Linked DNA regions of Homo sapiens: regions 2 and 3 are each linked to region 1. Evidence: promoter capture Hi-C in 16 types of primary human blood cells and fetal thymus (Javierre and others, 2016). All regions are on one chromosome and are shown on one strand. Each heading gives the region's core, a stretch centred on a gene start or on the middle of the fragment in contact. The rest is flanking DNA. Distances are from core to core; before and after follow the strand shown. Region 1 holds the start of TEK (TEK receptor tyrosine kinase). Region 2 overlaps TEK (TEK receptor tyrosine kinase). Region 3 overlaps TEK (TEK receptor tyrosine kinase).

Region 1 (2,536 bases), core at 10-2,509:
AATTTAAAGTCATCTCATAGGAATAGAAAATAGCTTTTTAGTAGAAGCTCTTGGAATTTAAATTGAGACTGAATGGAAAGATGAAAGAAAATAAACTTATTAACATTTAATGAGAACCTTCAAAGAACTAGGCATAGTACCAAATGGTTTTATATTTTTAAACCTCATTTATTCCTCTCAAAACACCTGGGAAGGAGATATTTTTGCCATTTCACAGCTGTTGAAACTGAGGCTCAAAAAGACTAAGTAACTTTTCTCAGCTACACATGTGGCTGAGCCAGTATTTGAACCCAGTTCTGTTTGCAGACAGAACCTGGGCTTTTTCACACCTGCAAACTGGAAACATTAATTGGTTCTTAAGATCATCATCGATGTGATAAAACCTGGGACAGAAATTAGTCAAGACTAGCTGCATCTGCCTTTTCCTCTGGTGGGTAGGAAAAGGAGGAGTATAATGATTTCCTCAGGCATGAAGGTCGATGATGAGCAAAGTGTATACTCTCTAATCTAATGTCATAATTCATATTGTGGAGTAATTATCTGGATAAGTGTAGGGTCTCTGACCTCATTCTAGATATTGTACATTCCATGGCTATTTTCATTTTGGTCCATGAACTCTCTTTGCTCTCATGAGCACCATTTTTATCCCAATCTAATCCTGTATGTTTGTGTTTTTACACAGATTAGTTTTTAAATGTTATATATAATTTGCTTCTGAAACACCATTGCTCAATGACTACCAAATCTTTCTCATTACCAAAATCCTTCTATGCCAACTTCTTCAAGAAATTTGATCACCTTTAGATGAATTGTTAATGAAAATTAAAGCTATAGCCGGCAACATGGGTATCTTTGGGCTAATGGCCAACCAACAGGCCATCTGTGTGAAAGAAAACAGGCTAACAATTTTGGACTCTGGTCTCTTGGGGCTACATTGAGCATTGACCTCACCGGTGCTCACTGAAATTAATTGCTTTTCAGGTTGTATTTTCTCATCACGGAAACCTTCTTCTCCCAATTCAAACCATGTGGGTTAAAATGAGAAAACAAAAGCCAAAACGGCTTCCCACACCCAAAAGCTCCTTCTGTCAGAGATCCCAGTAGCCCCGGGAGAGCTGTTAGAAGTCTGAGAAGGATTGGTCATCATCGCATACCATACATAGGTGGAGGGCTTGTTATTCTCAGTTTCCCGCCTATGAGAGGATACCCCTATTGTTTCTGAAAATGCTGACCGGGACCCACACTTCCAACAAAAATTCCTCTGCCCCTACAGCAGCAGCAAAAGCAGCAGCAGAAGCAACAGCAACAGATAAGTGTTTTGATGAATTGCGAGATGGATAGGGCTTGAGTGCCCCCAGCCCTGCTGATACCAAATGCCTTTAAGATACAGCCTTTCCCATCCTAATCTACAAAGGAAACAGGAAAAAGGAACTTAAAACTCCCTGTGCTCAGACAGAAATGAGACTGTTACAGCCTGCTTCTGTGCTGTTCCTTCTTGCCTCTAACTTGTAAACAAGACGTAGTAGGACGATGCTAATGGAAAGTCACAAACCGCTGGGTTTTTGAAAGGATCCTTGGGACCTCATGCACATTTGTGGAAACTGGATGGAGAGATTTGGGGAAGCATGGACTCTTTAGCCAGCTTAGTTCTCTGTGGAGTCAGCTTGCTCCTTTCTGGTAAGGTTTGGCTTTATTTTTTTTAATTTAGTATTTTAAAAAACAGAGTTAGTGATTTCTGGGTGCTCTCCCCAAATCTCATCAGTGCTGATGAACAAGGGGTGGCTGTAGCAAAGGCACCATTTCTCTGTGAGTCTCCAGTCAATATGTGTGGAAGGATTGAAATGCAAAGGCTCTGTGGCATGAACTGATTTTGCTAGTTTGTCTTCTGGGTGATTGGCCCCTGTGTTAGAAACTCTTTGAGGACCGATTAAATCATCTTATTTGAAGAGATCCCCTTACTATCATGCATTATTTTCCTGCTCCTCATTCTGGAGTGTTTTTCTTATTGATTTTTTTTTTAAAGAACAAACCGGTTTTACCTGCTTTAAAGAAAATCTTCAGTAAAAAATGAAATTCATGCTGAGAAATACAGGGGCCCAATTAAGGCAGTGTATAGATTGTCACTGTTAAAAGGGAACAAAGATGCTTTTCTGTAAAAAGATTTTATATCTACATCCTATTTTAAGCAAAGCAATGAAATTGTAGGCTTTTTTTTTTTTCTTGTAGTTAGGGTCAGGGAGATTGGGGCTATTAGAATTTTTGTTTTATTTTAAAAAATGTTTGCCATGTAGTAATTCATAAAGGGTTTACTGGCCCAATGAAACAAAAATTTAGGCAGTTACCAAAATCTTTAACACAGGAGAGTATATGAAGCCTGTTGTAGAGTGAAGGAGTGGTTGGCCAGTGTGTTGGGTTCAGCGTGTTTATTGCTTAGATACTCCAGATAGTGGTGTGCCTCTGTAGCTCACTCAGCCTATGTGACATAGGTAGAAGGCAGTATCCAAACCTGAACTACATATCACAAATACATTTATCA
Region 2 (2,536 bases), core at 13-2,512, 55 kb after region 1:
CTGAATACTTGTATGCCTGACATTCCCCTAGCAACTTCATATGTATTACTAACTTAGTCTTTATCAAATATATATCAGATGAGGACTTTTAAGACCCCACTAATAATAGATGAGGCTTGGCTATTGTAACTTAACGTGCATTTACTAGCTAGTGAGTGTTGGATCTGGGAAGGTGAAGTCAGGCCCGATTCTAGAAGCCTGGCTTTAACCATCACCCTGTGCTACCTTTCAAAACAGATGTGATCTTGCCCTCCTGGAACACCCAATCTAGTAGGGGATATATACCATGAGTGGGGCTATAATGAAAAAATGCAGGGTATTTAGGGAGTAGCTATGAGGGCATCTAACCTGTGTTCCAGGTGTTGTGTGAGGTCTCTGAAAATTCCTAAATGGAAACTGATGAATGAGCAGGAGCTGGTGAGGCTGAGGAGAAAAGGAGGAGAAAAGAAGAAAGAAAACTCATGACTTGGACATGAGTGATGAGATCTGGCTGAGGAACTGAATACAGTTCAAAGTGGCTGGAATTGAGAGCTAAGGATGTGGACCTGGAGAATGATAAGTCTGGAGAACTAGGGGTGGAGGTCTTGAGTTTGTGTCTCAACTTCCACATTTATTCACTGTTGATAGGCCTTGGGTAAGGGACTTAGTCTTCCTTAACTCCATCTCCCATATGGATAAACTGTAGCTATACTGTCTTCACAGGACTGTGGTGAAATTGCACAAAATAATCACAGATATGAAACTACATTATTTCCTGTAGTACTTACACAACAATTAAATTGAAAGGAGATGACTGAAATTGAGCTCACTTGTTTTTCATCTGTGTTTTCACTTGTGTATAACTTTTACTACCACCTACTTTCTTCTCCAGACCTTATGGAATAAGGAATTATATTTTTAGTTAAGTTCTGCCCATGAATTAGCCCATCCAAATGATCTTAAGCAAGTTATCTTCCAACCTAGGCCTCAGCAGTATCAAATTTAAAATGAGGTGGTTGGACCTTAAAGCCTTCTGAGTGCTAACATTACATAATCTATGAAAGCATCCAGAGCGAGATTCCTTGGTTCAAATCCTGGCTCTCCCATGTATATGCTGTGTGATCTTGGACAGGTTACCTAGCTTCTCTGTACCTTAATTTCCTCATCTGTAAAATTAGGATAATTGTAGTACCTATCTCATAGGGATATTATAAAAAGTAATTTTTATTTAGTTGGAGTCTCGCTCTGTTGCCCAGGCTGGAGTGCAGTAGCTCATTACAGTCTTGATTTTTTTTTTTTTTTTGAGATGGAGTCTCACTCTGTCACTGAGGCTGGAGTGCAGTGGCGCAATCTCAGCTCACTGCAAGCTCCGCCTCCTGGGTTCACGCCATTCTCCTGCCTAAGCCTCCTGAGTAGCTGGGACTACAGGCGCCCGCTACCACGCCCGGCTAATTTTTTGTATTTTTAGTAGAGATGGAGTTTCAATGTGTTAGCCAGGATGATGTCGATCTCCTGACCTTGTGATCTGCCCACCTTGGCCTCACAAAGTGCTGGGATTACAGGCGTGAGCAACTACGCCTGGCCTACAGTCTTGATTTCTTAAGCTCAAGTGATCCTCCTGAACAGCTGGGACTACAAGCATGTGCTACCATACCTAGCTAATTTTTAAATATTTTTTTTGTATGGAGCGGGGGTCTCACTGTGTTGCCTAGGCTGGTCTCAAACTCCTGGCCTTAAGAGATCCTCCCACCTTGGCCTCCCAAAATTTTGGGATTAGAAGCATGAGCCACCGCCCCCAGGTTGACAATTAAATTTGTGTAAAGTGCTTATAACAGCACTTGGTCCATAGTAGGTGCTATTAAAAGGTATTTATCGTTTTTATGGCCTAGTCAAGTCACATAACATCAATATATGTGTACTGAATACAAGCCAGGCTCCTGTGTCATCAGAAAGCCCAAAGTAGAACATGAATGTTGGATTTCCTTCGTTAGTACTCAACAGAGAGCAATCAGCCTAGAGACATTCATGCAGAGGTAAACTCTGGACAGCAGTGAAACTCTGGTGTGATAATGCCCCTAAGAAAACAGGAGGTTAAAAAGCACAGTCCTAAATAATAAAGAGCCACAGAGTGGTGGGGGGAAAGCTACTTGGAATTGAGCCTACTGGGGAACCTTGGTTCCTTTCAGAACACAATACTGAGTGAGAAGTCCCACGGTCAGCTAAACAATTCTCACACAAAGGAGCAGAAAATATAAACAAACCATATAGACAGGAACAACAGCATGAAATGGTCAGAAAAAAATTCTCGTAGGAGTCCAGGAGCATGCCACAGAGAGCAAGAGCTGCATGCATTTGGAGGTCTAAATGAAGCACTTGGCAACGTGAGCAGAAGCCCCACAAAGACAGCCCCCCTCACCATCCAGTCCCCTGTCTGCTCTTCCTTTATGGCTGGCTCATTTTAGTGCTCTGGAGAAAAGTGTCCCTCATGCTCATATCACAAATGTCAGCACAGCAGTGTTGCTGTTTATATTAGAAGGATACCGACCTCTTCTAGGCA
Region 3 (2,536 bases), core at 16-2,515, 38 kb after region 1:
ATATGAAAGATACATTTTTATTATAATTGTTAAAGTTAATATACAGTATAATTGGCTTTTGTGTGTATACAACTCTATGAGTTTTAACACATACACTCATGTATCTGCCACTAAGAACAGCGATCAGGATACAGAATAGTACCATCACCCCAAAAATCTTTTTTGTGCTGCCCCTTTGTAGTCAGATTTCTCCCAGCCCTAATCCTTGGCAGCCACTCATCTGGTCTCATCCCTACAGGCCTGCCTTTCTTAGAATGTCATATAAATGCAGTCGGACAGTAGGTAGAAGATGATTTTAGCTTCTTCACTCAGCATAATGCCATGTTGCTGCAAGTAGCAATAGGTTTTTTCTTTTCATTGTTGAGTAGCATGGATATACTATAGCTTGTTTATGTATTTATCCACTGAAGGATATTTGGGTGCTTCCAGTTTGGGGTGATTATGAATAAATAGAGCTGCTATAAACATTCTATTTTTTTTTTTTTTTTTTTTGGCGGGGGGGACGGAGTCTTGCTCTGTCTCCCAGGCTGGAGTGCAGTGGCGTGACCTCGGCTCACTGCAAGCTCCGCCTCCCGGGTTCACGCCATTCTCCTGCCTCAGCCTCTCGAGTAGCTGGGACTACAGGTGCCCACCACCACGCCCGGCTAATTTTTTGTATTTTTAGTAGAGACGGGGTTTCACCGTGTTAGCCAGGATGGTCTTGATCTCCTGACCTTGTGATCTGCCCGCCTCGGCCTCCCAAAGTGCTGGGATTACAGGCGTGAGACACTGCGCCCGGCCAACATTCATTGTATGAATGTACATTTTCATTTCTGAAGGGTAAATGCCTACAAGTGGGATTGTTGGGTGATACGTAAGTGTATGTTTAACTTTATAAGAAATTGTTAAACCAATTTCCACAGTGGCTATACCACCCATTTTAAATTACTTCCATCAATGGATGAGAATTGCAGTTCCTACACATTCTCTTTAGCACTGGGTATTATCAGGTTTTCTTTTTTCTTTCTTCTTTTTTTGTTTTTTGATCTGTTCTAATAGGTTTGTAGCAGTATCTCATTGTGGTTTCACTTAGCATTTCCATAATGTTTAATGATATTAAACATCTTTTGTGCTTATTTGCCATCTATACATTTTCTCTGGTGAAGTGTCTCAAATCTTTTGCTCATTTAAAAAAATTGAGTTGTTTTCTTACTGTTGAGTTTTGAGAGCTTTTTATGCATTCTAGATGCAAGTCATTTGCCAGATATGTGATTAGCAAATATTTTCTCCCAGTTCATGGTTTGTCCTTTTATTTTCTTAACAATGTCTTCCATAGACTAAAGTTTTAAATCTTAATAAAATTTAGCGTAACAATTTCTTTTTTATTCATGGTGTCTATGACAGCTAATTTTTGGTGTCATAGCTAACAATCACTTTCTAACTCCAGTGTCATGAAGATTTTCTTCTATATACCTAAAGTTTTGTATTTTAATGTTTTACACGATGTATTTTTAGTGAATTTTTGTATACATGGGTGGTTTTAGGTTAGGGCTCTTTTTTTGCATATTGATGTCCAAGTGTTCCAGTATTATTTGTTGAAAACAACTTCATTGAATTGTTAGACATTTTTGACGTGAGATGGTGTAATATAGTTTAATTGTTGAAAGAATGGAGTGAAACCAGTCCACCTAAATTTCAGTCTCAGCTCTGCTACAAATTAGCTGTGTAACAATCACCAAGTATTTAATCTTTCTTTGTCATAGTCTCCTTTTCTGTTAAATGGAAACAGTCATAGTACCTACTGCCTAGATTGCTATGAGGATTGAGTTATTATGTGTTGACACACTTAGAGTAGTACCTGACATAATAAGTGATGAATTAGGGTTAGCTTTTATATAACTTTTCAGTTATTGTAGATATTGCGAGCACGTCCTGTAAACATGTTTTACTAATTACACTGCCCATCAACAATATAGATGTTTCTATTCAACAGCCAGCACCAGATATTATGACCCTCTCCATTCTTTGACAATTTGATAGGCAAATAATGAGATGTCTTTTTAGTTTGTATTTTGAGATCTGTGGTCAGGTTAAACATCTTTTCAACTTTTCACATGTTGTGAGTATATCAGCTTTTGATGAGTAACAAGGCATCCAAAACATAATGGTAAAACAGCAAACATTTATTATGACTTATGCTTCTGTATGTCATCTGGGAAACTCTTTGGCTTAAGCTGGATTGGTCTCTCATCCTCTAGCGGGTTAGTCTTGGCGTCTCCTCATGATGGCCTCAGGGTTCCATAGAGCAGCAGCAAGAGTGCAAGCCCAGTGGGAGAGCCCAGTGGGCAAGCACTTTTCAAGCCTCTGCTTATGCCACATTGGCTAATCCTCCATTGATCAAAAGAAGTCCCATGGCCAAGCCTAGATTCAAGAGATGGAGAAAGAAACTCCACTTCTTGATGGAATGAAATGCAAAATATTGTGACCACTTTTTCATGAATCTACTGCGACTGGCTGTTTGTGTTTCCTTCTCTGTGAATTGCTATTGGTTCAACGA

The links. Contacts are between HindIII fragments. The CHiCAGO score rates a contact against its expected background, and 5 or more counts as called.
Region 2: a contact is called between a fragment that was not itself captured here and the fragment with the promoter of TEK in region 1, in 1 of 17 cell types (endothelial precursors). The highest score is 6.4, in endothelial precursors.
Region 3: a fragment that was not itself captured here is called in contact with the fragment with the promoter of TEK in region 1 in 1 of 17 cell types (endothelial precursors); the score reaches 7.1 in endothelial precursors.

The regions. Positions count from the first base shown.
Region 1 is chr9:27,107,966-27,110,501 of GRCh38, forward strand. TEK (TEK receptor tyrosine kinase) reads left to right here and starts at 1,260. Exons shown (of 23, transcript NM_000459.5): 1 at 1,260-1,677. The coding sequence starts at 1,626. The HindIII fragment of the contact is 9,085 bases long and covers 1-2,536 here.
Region 2 is chr9:27,163,056-27,165,591 of GRCh38, forward strand. The region is part of intron 2 of TEK (TEK receptor tyrosine kinase); the gene reads left to right. Among named protein-coding and RNA genes, the nearest start is that of TEK, 55 kb to the left of the region's middle. The HindIII fragment of the contact is 5,735 bases long and covers 1-2,536 here.
Region 3 is chr9:27,146,249-27,148,784 of GRCh38, forward strand. All of the region lies in intron 1 of TEK (TEK receptor tyrosine kinase), which reads left to right. Among named protein-coding and RNA genes, the nearest start is that of TEK, 38 kb to the left of the region's middle. The HindIII fragment of the contact is 2,940 bases long and covers 1-2,536 here.